Linked DNA regions of Homo sapiens: all the other regions are linked to region 4. The links are contacts of gene promoters, found by promoter capture Hi-C in blood cells and fetal thymus (Javierre and others, 2016). All regions are on one chromosome and are shown on one strand. Each heading gives the region's core, a stretch centred on a gene start or on the middle of the fragment in contact. The rest is flanking DNA. Distances are from core to core; before and after follow the strand shown. Region 1 holds the start of IDI1 (isopentenyl-diphosphate delta isomerase 1). Region 2 holds the start of CREM (cAMP responsive element modulator). Region 3 overlaps LOC105376392 (a long non-coding RNA gene). Region 4 holds the start of NSUN6 (NOP2/Sun RNA methyltransferase 6).

The links. Contacts are between HindIII fragments. The CHiCAGO score rates a contact against its expected background, and 5 or more counts as called.
Region 1: a contact is called between the fragment with the promoter of IDI1 here and the fragment with the promoter of NSUN6 in region 4, in 1 of 17 cell types (fetal thymus). The highest score is 5.8, in fetal thymus.
Region 2: the fragment with the promoter of CREM here is called in contact with the fragment with the promoter of NSUN6 in region 4 in 3 of 17 cell types (naive B cells, activated CD4 T cells and total CD4 T cells); the score reaches 6.8 in naive B cells.
Region 3: a fragment that was not itself captured here is called in contact with the fragment with the promoter of NSUN6 in region 4 in 1 of 17 cell types (total B cells); the score reaches 5.7 in total B cells.

Annotation. Positions count from the first base shown.
Region 1 is chr10:1,047,603-1,050,517 of GRCh38, forward strand. IDI1 (isopentenyl-diphosphate delta isomerase 1) reads right to left here and starts at 1,517. Exons shown (of 5, transcript NM_004508.4): 1 at 1,262-1,517. The coding sequence starts at 1,401. RefSeq lists enhancers at 764-1,294, 1,295-1,824, 1,516-1,565, 1,825-2,354, 2,026-2,165 and silencers at 1,106-1,195, 1,206-1,425. The HindIII fragment of the contact is 1,083 bases long and covers 1,450-2,532 here.
Region 2 is chr10:35,125,320-35,128,297 of GRCh38, forward strand. CREM (cAMP responsive element modulator) reads left to right here and starts at 1,527. Exons shown (of 8, transcript NM_183011.2): 1 at 1,527-1,874. It also overlaps a transcript of CUL2 not described here. RefSeq lists silencers at 1,415-1,934, 1,995-2,134 and an enhancer at 2,495-2,564. The HindIII fragment of the contact is 8,974 bases long and covers 1,014-2,978 here.
Region 3 is chr10:7,808,726-7,811,885 of GRCh38, forward strand. The region is part of intron 1 of LOC105376392 (a long non-coding RNA gene); the gene reads right to left. Among named protein-coding and RNA genes, the nearest start is that of TAF3, 8.2 kb to the right of the region's middle. The HindIII fragment of the contact is 545 bases long and covers 1,209-1,753 here.
Region 4 is chr10:18,650,088-18,653,078 of GRCh38, forward strand. It overlaps NSUN6 (NOP2/Sun RNA methyltransferase 6), which reads right to left and starts at 1,500. Exons shown (of 11, transcript NM_182543.5): 1 at 1,042-1,500. The coding sequence starts at 1,116. RefSeq lists an enhancer at 1,640-1,739. The HindIII fragment of the contact is 3,002 bases long and covers 878-2,991 here.

The DNA.
Region 1 (2,915 bases), core at 267-2,766, about 18 Mb before region 4:
TCTACACCACACAGCCCAGCTGCTCCACCGTCTGTCTACACCACACAGCCCAGCTGCTCCACTGTCTAGGTCTGCGTCAGCGCACTCTGCTTCCACAATGATGAAAGTACCTAACAATGAACTTCTCCAAAGTATCCCTGTTAAGTGATGCGGGCCGAACGTTAAATTATCATCTGTAGATGATCTCTTATAGTATCTAAAACATGTAAATCCTACATAAATAGTTGTGCTGTATTGTTTACAGAATAAGTCTGTATATGTTCAGTACAGATGAAATTTTTTTCCAAATATTTTATAATGTGCAGTTGGTTAAATCCATGGATATGGACCCCAAGGATACAGTAGGCCAACTGTATATTAGGTGATCACTAAGATAGGTTTCGTTACTACATAATTACTAGACTTTTTGACATGACTTTTTTTCCGGGGGGATGGGGCTGGGTCTTGCTATGTCTGTCGCCCAAGCTGGAGTGCAGTGGCGCGATCTCGGCTCACTGCAGCCTTCGACTCCGCCTCCCAAAGTGCTGGGATTAAAGGCGTGCACCACCGCCCAGCTGTAATGACAATTGCTCTTTCAGGATTTTCAGAATTCAGATTTTAAAGCTAAGCTGCATAATCACAAGATAAAATGAATACGTCTATTTATGCGTTTAAAGAATACCATGTAGTAGACGCGGGAACACATCATCCAACCCAAGAAAAAGGTCTAGTTCCATCTATGCGATGCTCCCCATCTCTTCTCCTGCTCCATTCCCAGGAGAAGCGCCTTGAGTGTGTTGCTGTCACCCTCTTGCACGGACGCAGGTGTATGCACCCGCGTCACACGCGTGGACTCGGCACGGGGAGGCCGGTGTCGTCACGCTCGTGTTTCTGACGATGCTGTCTACGCTTGTTTCTGAATTCTCTAAGGGGAGACTCGCAACTCTTAGTCTCCTGCGACTCGGTTTCCAGTTCCACGAGTTCCTAAACCTCAGGTGACTGTGCGCAGACGACGATCTTTTCCGCTGACAAAGAATGGCAACGTCTCTGACGCCCCGACTCACGCCTCCGCCTTCCACGGGGCGCGGGCGCCCACCACAGCCCGGGAAGGCCCGGCCTCCCTCCAGTTCGGGAGACCAACGCCGCCACCCCCAGCTGTCCAGGCCTCCGCGCCGAGACCTCACGGGTGGCTCAGACCTCGGGCCTCCTCCCCGCCCCGTCCCGCAGCTCCCCGATGCCGCCCTGCCCCTGTCTCCCGAACTCCGCCGCCCGTCCACAGTACCTGATCAGCCTCCGGCCACAGACAACCGCCGGTCCCGGATGGCGCCCGCTTTGAGCACAGTCTGCGGCGCGCACCGCCCACTGGCCCCGCCCCCGGGCCGCGCAGCCAATCGCTCGCGCCAGCGCCAGTCCACGCCACATCGCCCGGCCAATTGGCGCCCGTACGCGCTTGACGACACAATCTCGCCAAGCTTCGCCTGGTGGTGCCACCTCCCTGGCCTGTGACAACGGCAGACGCGCGAAGCACCGGGAACCTGAGCCGTGACCGCGGGCTCTGGCGCCTTTAAGGGGGTCAACACGCCCCACCCCCAGTTCCGCAGAGGCAGCGTCCCGCGACTGGGCGGTGCCCGAGACCACAGACGCCGCCAGCCAATCACGCTTTCGATCCTGCCGTGCGAGCCCGAGGCGCTGCGAACGGTGCCTAACGTCAGACGTCTCGAGGCTCGCGTTCCATGGAGGAAGCCCTCCCAATCCGAAAGCGCCCGGGCGCCAAGCCCTGCAGCCGGAAGCTCGGCGTCCCATGGGAGCGACCTCCGCATGGCTGGACCAATGGAAACGGAGGAAAGGCGGGACGTCACTGCTGACTGGCTGGTTGGGCACTCCCCCCCCTCCCCCCCCCCGAGTTCCGCCGCTGGGACTACAGCGTTTGGCTGCACGGGGAGTTCTCGTATGTCTAGAACGATGGCCTTTCTGCGGTGTCTGCGACCGGGACCAAGGCGGAGCAAAGTCGCCGGGGGTGTGGGGTGTTCCACGCTATGTTGGGAGTGTTCGCTTTCGAGGTACATGACTACGTTCTAAATTTTTTTTTTTTGAGACAGTTTCATTCTTGTTGCCCAGGCTTGAGTGCAATGGTGCAGTCTCCGCTCACAGCAACCTCCGCCGCCCGGGTTCAGGCAATTGTCCCGTCTCAGCCTCCCAAGTAGCTGGAATTACAGGCATGCGCCACCACGCCCGGCTTATTTCGTATTTTTAGTAGAGACGGGTTTCCGCATGTTGGTCAGGCTGGTCTGGAACTCCTGACCTCAAGTGATCCACCTGGCTCAGCTTACCGAAGTGCTGAGATTCCGGGTGTGAGCCACCGCGCCTAGCCCTCTAAACTTTTAAATAATCGTGAAATGTATGCGCAGCTGAAGCGAATTCAGCTATTTCCTCTACCTTTTGTGTGGAATTTAAAATACTGAACTTGTGAGATGAACCTGGTGGGCACCAGTTCTCAAACTTCTTGGTCACAGGACGCTTGCACTCTCTTAAAATGTACTGAGGACACCTAAAAGCTTTTGCTCACTGTTGTTTACTACTGCTATTTACTAACATAGAAATTAAACATATTAAAATATTCACTTAAAAAACACACGACACTAACATAAGTTATATTTTTATTAAAAATCTTTTCCAGACAAAAAACAGACTTTGATTTTGTTTTATGTGTTGACAGATCTCTTTCATGTCTGGCTTCACACAGATAAGAAAATCTGGCCTCCCGCATGCGCAGCAAGTCCTCACTGCTGTCAGTGCGTTCTTGGGAATCAGGACTTTTAAGTGAAACAACGTATAGCAAAACCAATTTTACCAGAGGCTAAAAAATAAGGATTAAGTTCCTAAAGCATACTTCTGGCCAAGGAAAAAAAAAATCACTAAGCTTCTAAAGGCCAAAG
Region 2 (2,978 bases), core at 277-2,776, about 16 Mb after region 4:
TTATAATTAAGACTACATACATATGGGAGTAAAATACTGGCAAGAAAGGAAACCGTAGAGCAAATACTTTGCAAATAAGAAATTGCCATTCCTTTGATTCTTTTTGATTCATATGAACTCCTGTTACAGAGACAATTGTTGTGGATACATTCCCTTTGACCTACGAAAATTAGATTTGAACAAAGGTTCAGATTGGATTTAGATTAAGTCCTGCTCAGTGAAAATTATGAAAACACTCTGACACTACAGTAACTGATATGAAATAATAAATCCTCACTTAACATTGTCAATAGCTTCTTAGAAACTGGTTTTCAGTGAAACAACGTACAATGAAACCGATTTTTGTTATCATCAATATTATAACGAAATGAAAACAACACTGAATGAAAATTTTTTTGTGGACCTGCTGTAAGTTGTTTGGCTTAAAGCCATGATTTCTAAGAACCTATCGTTAAGTGAGGACCTACTGTACTCTATAACCATGCTGCTATTCTTTATTCCTGATATCCCATTACTTTTTTTATTTTTGAGATGGAGCCTCGCTCTGTCACCCAGACTGGAGTGCAGTGGAACGATCTCAGCTCACTGCAGCCTTGACCTCCCAGGTTCAAGCGATTCTCCTGCCTCAGCCTCCCAACTAGCTGGGACTACAGGCGTCTGCCACCACTCCTAGCTAATTTTTGTATTTTTAGTAGAGATGGGGTTTCACCATGTTGGCCAGGCTGCTCCTGACCTCAGGTGATCTGCCCATGTCTGCCTCCCAAAATGCTGGGATTACAGGCGTGAGCCCCCGGCCGACCTTTCTAATCTAAAAAAAAAAAAAGAGATGAAGTCTCACTGTGTTCCCTAGGCTGGTCTCCTGGGCTCAAGCGATCCTCCCACCTTGGCCTCCCGAAGTGTTGGGATTACAGGCCCGAGCCAGCGGGCCCAGCATGCGGACCATTTCCAGTCAAATACTGGGATAAACTGCAATAAATGACCCTAAGAAGCAGGTGAATTGTCTCAGGAGCTCAAGCTTCTTTTGGAGAAGGACTCAACCAGCTGTGACTGGCTGTGAATATGGAGGAAAAGGGCCACTAGTCAAGGTATGTAGATAGCTTTTAGAAGTCAGAAGAAGCACGCCTGCAGTCCCAGCTACTCAGGAGGCTGAGGCCGGAGGATCGCTTGAGCCTGGGGAGATAGAGGTTGCAGAGAGCCGAGACCACGCCACTGCAGCCCAGCCTGGACAGAGGTGAGACGCTCGCGGACCTTAGCTTGGGGTTGGCGGCGTTAGGAAGAAACCGACCTCGAGACCCTGAAGACCTGACAACAGCCGTTACTCTGGCTGACAAGTCATTGGATTTCTGGCGCACGCGCGGCGCGGCACGGGCAGCTTCCGGTTTCCAGCCTTGCCCCCGCCCCTACCTTCCGCCCCACCTCCAGGCTAGTTCCTCCTCTTGGCCCCGCCCCCTGACCTTCCTTCTCCCTATCCCTAGGCCCCGCCCCCTGACCCGCACCTTCCCGCCGCCCCTCCCCGGTTCCATTTCATTGTTGGATTGTGGCGCTTCACTCCTGCTGGCGGCCGGCAGGGGGCGGAGTTCGAGCCTGGATTTTTTTCCTCGGGGCCTCCCCCGGGAGGCCGTCCCGGCGTGGGGGAGGGGAGGACGGGGCGGGAGGACGCGGTTCGGTCGGCTGCAGCGCTACTTTTGGTCCGGGGTCGGCAGGGAGGCCGCGGCTACCGCATCACAGCTGACGTGAGGACTACGTGGGGCCGCTGCCGGCTCCGGGTTGCTGGGCGGCGGCGCCGCTGCTGAGCGGCGGTCGGGCTCGCCGTCTCCACCTCCTCGCGTCCGTAATCAGTGACGAGGTCCGCTACGTAAATCCCTTTGCGGCGGGTAAGTGGTGCGTCGGCTCCGGCCCCGAGACCCAGCAGCGGGCGACGCGGCGCAGGAGGTGGAGGTGGAGGCAGGAGGCGGAGCGGAGCCGGGTGCGGTGGAGCAGCAGAGGCCGAGCGGAGCCGTGGGCGGCGGGCCGGGACCCCGGGGCCGGGCCAAGGACTGGCGGGGCAGCCGCGAGTTCACCTGACGCGGCCCCTCGCTCGGCGCCCCCGAGGCCGCCGGCTCGCCGCCCCACGCCCGCTTCGTGCGCTCAGCTGCCCCGGGACCCGCCTGCCTCCTCGCGAACTTGGGACGAGTTGGAAAATCCTCCCTGAGAGAGCCGTGCGGCTCAGGGGAGCGGTTTAACTCGGAAAAGGAAAAGGAATCCAGAAGTAAGGACCTCGGATTTGAGTGCCCCCAGCGCCTCTGCCCCACTTTACGAGCGCAGTTTAGACGAAAGCGGACGCAGCCCGTTTTCCCCCAAAACCTGGGCCGGAGGGCCTCGCAGCTGAGTCATTCGGTCCCGGGCGCGGGCAGTCTCCGGAGTGGGAAGGGCAGAGCCGCGACCGCTCTCGGAAGGCGCATTTTCCCTTCTGCCTGAGTCTTGCCTTTTTAGGGCCATCTGGTAAGGTTTCCAGAGCCTGTTGAATCTGGGGAATAAACACATTATTAAACATACTTTTTTTTTTTGAGACGGAGTCTTGCTGTTACCCAGGCTGGAATGCAGGGGCATGATCTCGGCTCACTGCAGCCTCTGCCTCCTGGGTTCAAGCGATTCTCTTGCCTCAGCCTCCCGAGTAGCTGGGATTACAGGCATGCGCCACCACGCCTGCTAATTTTTGTATTTTTAGTAGAGATGGGGTTTTACCATGTTGGTCAGGCTGGTCTCGAACTCCTGACCTTCCACCCACCTCGGCCTCCCAAAGTGCTGGGATTACAGGCGTGAGCCGCCGCGCCTGGCCTCAGCATGTTTCTTGATCCTGTTGCGTTTTATTTGTATATCAGATACCTGAGTTTGAAATCACTTAGGGGTTTCCTGCATGCTGCTCAGTGAAGCAGCGGTGAGTTTGTAATCACATTTTAAGAAATTGGGACTTACAGGGCCAGTCTCAAAGTGTCACT
Region 3 (3,160 bases), core at 231-2,730, about 11 Mb before region 4:
TGGTAATGAATAAAAAGGTTCAGTGAACTGACCAGAGCTTCAAAGTCATTTTCTAACTCCCCTCAAAGTTTTCAGGAGCCACTTCTGAAGGGGTTGGTGGCTGAGACTAGGAGAAAGAAACAGCTCACAACTGAGGAATCAGATGGAGGTGTAGTGTGAACCAGTACAAGATACCTTTTGGGAATGTTAGCAACGAACCACGTGCCTCTGGAGGCTGTGTGTATGTGTGTGTGTGTGTGTGCACGCCACTATACCTGGCTAATTTAAAAAAAAATTTTTTTTTTAGAGATGGGGTCTTGCTATTTTGCCCAGTCTGGTCTTGAACTCCTGGGCTCAAGTGATCCTCCTTAGCCCTGCAAAGTGCTGGAATTACAGGTGTGAGCCACCATGCCCATCCTGTTTTGTATTTTGCTTCTAAGCTTGGCTTGACCCACCTCCAGTTTCTAGGAGAGCAGAACACATTTGTGAGGGTGATTTGAGTGTCCTAGACATCATGGAAGGAGGAAAAGCAGGAATTTGAAATCAGTCAACATAAGTAAGAATAATCTGTGTCTGAACTGGAATACTAGCTCAGCCCTTAACAGCTGTGACCTTGGGCAAGTTACTTAATCTTTCAGTTTTATGATCTATAAGATGGAGATTAAAAGATTGTTAGGATTAAATGAGCTAATATTTTAAAATATCGAGAATCTGACAGGGAGTAAGTGCTATATTCTTGGTTAAATGTCTGCTCTATGTAAAATTAATCATCAGCTCCCTGTAGCCTTTAGTGGTGCTCTTCTGTGTACTGGCACTCTGACTCTCTGAGGATACAATAACAAAACGCCTCCTTGCAGGAGCTTACAGTCTGGAGGGAACACAAGCAAATGACAGAATGTGGTAAGTTACAATTGGTGAGCCACAAGAGGGACAGTGACTCAATTTGGGGACAGATGAAGGGGACTGAGAAGGCCGTCCAGCTTGGAGGAAGGGAGGTCTAAACAGTCCTCAAGGACCAGTGACCAACAGTAGAAATTAAACTACTAGAGCTAACTGGTGGGGAGGGAAGGCATTTCAGGCCAAGGAAGCAGAAAAAGCAAAGACCAAAATCTGTTCAAATGCACATTCTGAAAACTGCTAATACAGAGAACGAGAAAGGCAAGATAAATCTGGAAAGGTGAGTGTACCATGCTGTGTGGTTTAGACATGTAGGAAGGAATCAAAGAGTAAGCTTGAAATTTTCCCCCAACTTCTGTCCTCTCCTTTTGCTAAGTGGCATAACACAGTGGAATTACAGTGATAAATGACCACTGGTAAGGTTTATTACATAATTCAAACTGCTTTTTTTTTTGAGATGAGGTCTGGCTCTTATCGCCCAGGCTGGAGTGCAGTGGCAGGATCTTGACTTACTGCAAACTTCACCTCCTGGGCTCAAGCCATCCTCCCACCTCAGCCTCCCAAGTAACTGGGACTACACCATGCCTGGCTGATTTTTGTATTTTTAGTAGAGACAGGGTTTTGCCATGTTGCCCAGGCTGGTCTCGAACTCCTGGCCTCAGTGATCTGCCTGGCTCGGCCTCCTGAAGTGCTGGGATTACAGGAGTGAGCCACTGCTCCTGGCTATCCTATTTTCTGCAAACACCTACACAGTACCTAAAGGGCTAGGTCTGTTAATTTTAATATTCTAGGATTGAGTTTCCATCATTACAACTGTTGTCTATAATGTGCCCTTTAGGAAACTGTTTCTCTGTGTGCTTTAATATAGAATAGTTGAAGCTTTCAGAAATTTTATTATCATTATTCAAAACTCTCTAAATGAAGCTTAAGAACTGTGCAGTCACTGAGCTCCTGGCACCAACTGAAGAAAAAGTGCTGCCGTTGGCTGAAGTTGGGCTCACTGGTCCTCAACTGTAACCCTCGTCAGCATTGACCGCTACGCCCCAGTACTCGCCTTTCCCACATTGCTCTTGGTTCTTTTCCTTGTCCACCAAGACAGAATGATAAGGATCAGGCCTCTTGGATGAGTCTGAGCTCTGATCTCAGGAAGAAATTTCGTTCTACAGATCTCATGCCCCGCTAAGCTGTGTGCAGTCTCACTGCTAAAGAAGCAGCTGCTCTCCATTTCTGCCACTCCTGCTCTTGAACAGGTTCCTGATTCCTGGCCTCCACTGTTCACTTCTAGTTACTCTCTTCAAAGAGTGGCTTCACTGAGACATCATCCACATGCCATGAAATTCACCCTTCTAAATTCTACCACTCAGTGGTTTTTCATATATTCAGAGTTGTGCTCTAATCCACTCTCTATATCATTGCAAGATGAATTGTGCTAAAAGGCATTACTGAAATATGACTAACTGCTAGGTACTATTTACTAGTGAATGAGACGAACACAGATCCTGCCTCTACCCCCGCAAAGTATACAGCAAAGAATGGAATGATTTTAGTTTCGGACATCCCTCAAACATTAATTACATTTGAGTGATATATTGGACATCCAAGCAGACATTAGTCATTAGATGCAGTTAGCTACGCTAGTATAGCACTCAGGAACAATCCAAGATAAAGTGTTATATTAAGGAGTCATCTTTACACAGCTAATGATGAAATCACTGAGGTGAATCCTATGAAAAGAGAACACTGTAAAAGCAGACAAAAGCTGCCAGGCGTAGTGGCTCATGCCTGTAATCCCAGCAGTTTGGGAGGCCGAGGTGGGCAAATTGCTTGAGCCCAGCGGTTTGAGACTAGCCTCGGCCACATAGCAAAACCCATCTCTACAAAAAAGACAAAAATGAGCCAGGCATGGTGACATGTGCCTGTGGTCCCAGCTACTCAGGAGCCTGAGGTAGAAAGATTGCTTGAACCTGGGAGGTCGAGGCTGCAGTGAGCTGTGACCAGGCATGATGGTGCATGCCTGTAATCCCAGCTTTTTGGGAGGCTGAGGCAGGAGAATCACTTGAACCTGCGAGGCAGAGGTTGCAGTGAGCTGAGATCGTACCACTTCACTCCAGCTTGGGTGACAGAGCAAGACTCTGTCTCAACAAAACAAGCAAACAAACAAAAAAAGTAATAAAAGGCAAAGACATTGCAGGATAAGTCAAATCTTTGATATTGAAGCCAGGTTTCTCACTTTGGGAGAGACAGGATATGCAAATAGGACATGGGAGGAGAAAAGGGATATGTA
Region 4 (2,991 bases), core at 250-2,749:
CAATAAAAGACAATCAACATTTACTGAGGACTTCTGTGGCAGGCACTGCCAATTGCAAACAAAATTAACATTTTTTGAAGACTTACATGCCAAAACAATGCAAGTTGTTTTCATTTACGTTTAATATCCTAAAACAACCTGGTAAAATATTTTTAACTTGACTAAAAAATTAAAGATTTGAAAAAAAACAAAGTTGCTTAGAGGCAGCATGGTAAAATGGAATAGACAACAGGCTTTGCAATCAAAGATAATCAACATTTACTGAGGACTTTAGCAAATAAAATTAACATTTTTTGAGGACTTACATGCCAAAACAATGCTAGTTGTATTCACTTACGTTTAATATCCTAAAACAACCTGGCAAGATATTTTTAACCATTCTCAATTTTTCACAGAAGAGAAAAATCTAGGTTAAGCCACGTAATTTACAAAGCACTAGAATGCAAATCATGTGCCTGAGATTCAAAAGCTGTACCTTTGTTCATTACACCTGAACTCTTTCCCTCCAGATTTCAATAGTTACTTGATAGCTGTGTCAACTTGGATCAGTTACACAATTCCTTGAGCAGTTTTCTGCTCAAGTCTATTAAAAGAGGAAAAACCTCTAAGAAAAAAAAGATTGTGAAGATTAAAGATGCAAATCTCCTAGCACAACTGCTGGCATTTAAGAGGCACTCAACAAATTACAGAAACCTTTTCACCTGAGTGCCAGAGCCAGCGCTCTTTTAAAATTCGATTCGAGTTCTTGAAGACAGGGACCTTTTCTTGTTCATCCTTGTAACCCTTTGTGCCATGCCTGACAGGCACATGCCTTTTTTCCCTTCTTTTCCACTCCTAAATGTTAAAACATATACCTTATTCACTTCGTATCTCAGTAAGCTTTAATACCTGTAGAAACATATTGGTATTTTTACACTTGATAGACAAGTAGTAAGGAACGACGGCTGTCAAGATTTCCCTTTATACTTATTTCTATTTCTCTCGAGTGTGCGAATATTTGAGTTTTTGCAAAATATCAACTAACATCTTTACTTGACCTACCTCCTTATTCATAAAGCCTTCCTTAAGATAGTTTTCAACCTCAGGTCTCAAAGATATCTTAGGGAAAATAGACATTTTTCCTGTTGTTTAGTTCTCCACCAAGAGAAATGCTGGAAAACGGTGTTTTGTTTTTTTTTTTCTTTCCGAATTAATAGTGACGAGTGTCTTGACACCAGATGCTGAGGAAAATCTTGCCGATCACGCTGAGTTAATTTCGGAAATGCAGAGGTACACGCTTTCTCAAGCCTAGCCGATTAGAAGGGGCTGCCGGGCTTCCACCACACCTCATCGAGGCAATGTTTTCTGGTAGAGATGCTCATGGAAATCACTGAGCCAATGCCACTCACGTTGCAAAGAACCAAAAAAAGAAAAAAATGCTTAGTAACTGAATCCGTGGTGAAACGGACGCAGATCAGTAAGCCAGGCTGACAGCAGCTCGGTCCCTTTATCTTTTCTATCAATTTCCAAACACGCGCCCCCTATTTCTCGGCGGAAAGTCGCTTCCGGCTTACGTCACGTCCGGCGCCTGCGGCCCACCCCTCCCTTTCCGGTCCCCCAATCCACAGCCGCAAGTTTCCCCAACACTGCGTTACGCTACGCCACGCCCCCGGAGGTTCCTAACCCTGCGTGAGGCTCTTTCACCTGCCTCAGGTTAAGTAGGCAGACCCCGCGGGCGGGATGGTCAAAGATATTTAGTTCCCGGTACCGGAGGGCTAGGTGCCAGGGGCAATGGGGAAACAGCCAAATGGCGTGGGTTGAGTGGAAGATGTTGCTGGACTGAAAAAAGGCACAGCCCAGTTGCTGTCCTGCCAGATGTCCTCCAGTTAGAGGATGAGGCCAGAATTTGGGCGCATCAGCCACCGTTTGATTTCATGACATGATTTTACCTCTCTCAGGCATACAGATCTGACTTCAGTTGTGAAGTTCATAGGGTTCATATTTTTGAAAGTTGGGCTAATGGTCTGTTAATATCCAATGCTCAGGTAAAACTTAAAACCCACAGACAGTGTTTACAGTTAGTTATAAGGCTAACTGCTACTTGTATCATAGTTGACATATTCTTTAGAGTTTGGAAGACCCTCGCCATTATTTTTTTTTCTTTTTTTTCATCATAAGCAGACAAGGATATAGATTCAAAGAACGAGGATATCTAACCAAACTCACTGAGTCATTTTATAACTGTACAGGAAAGTCAAAATAATTCTATCACCTTGACATATGTTTTTTGCAGCACACCATGGTAATTTACACATAAGTATAGGAAAGGGTTTTTTATTGTTTTTTTCTCTTTAATTTTCACACCGAATTATACACACAGACACACACACATAGAACAGGTACTTTCCATGACACACCAACTCTTTACCAGAAAGAGTAGAAAATAATGAATGACCATTATACCACACAACAACCTGCAAGTTGTTTATCATTTTCTCTGCTCTTTTTTTTTTTTTTTTTTTGAGTCTCTGTCGCCCAGACTGGAGTGGAATGGTGGGATCTCGACTCACTGCAACCTCCACCTCCTGGTTCAAGAGATTCTCCTGCCTTGGCCTCCCGAGTAGCTAAAATTACAGGCATGTGCCACCAGGCCCAGCTAATCTTTGTAATTTTAATAGAGACGGGGTTTCACCATGCTGGCCAGGCTGGTCTCAAACTCCTGACTTCAACTGATCTGACTCTCTAGCCTCCCAAAGTGCTGGGATTACAGGCGTGAGCCACCACGCCCAGCCCATTTTCTCTGTTTTAAAGAGTAAATCAAGGTTCCTAGGGTTGAAACAACTCTCCATGTTCTCACAAATAAAAAGCCAGGATAAAGACTAGTAATTTGGCTTCTAGAGCCAATACCTTGTCCTTGACCATAGCATATTTCTTCAATAAATCCATGAGATTCTTTCATGGCTAAAACATCTGAAAGTGATAAATGTCTAAATCAGACATTTCCAAAGGAAT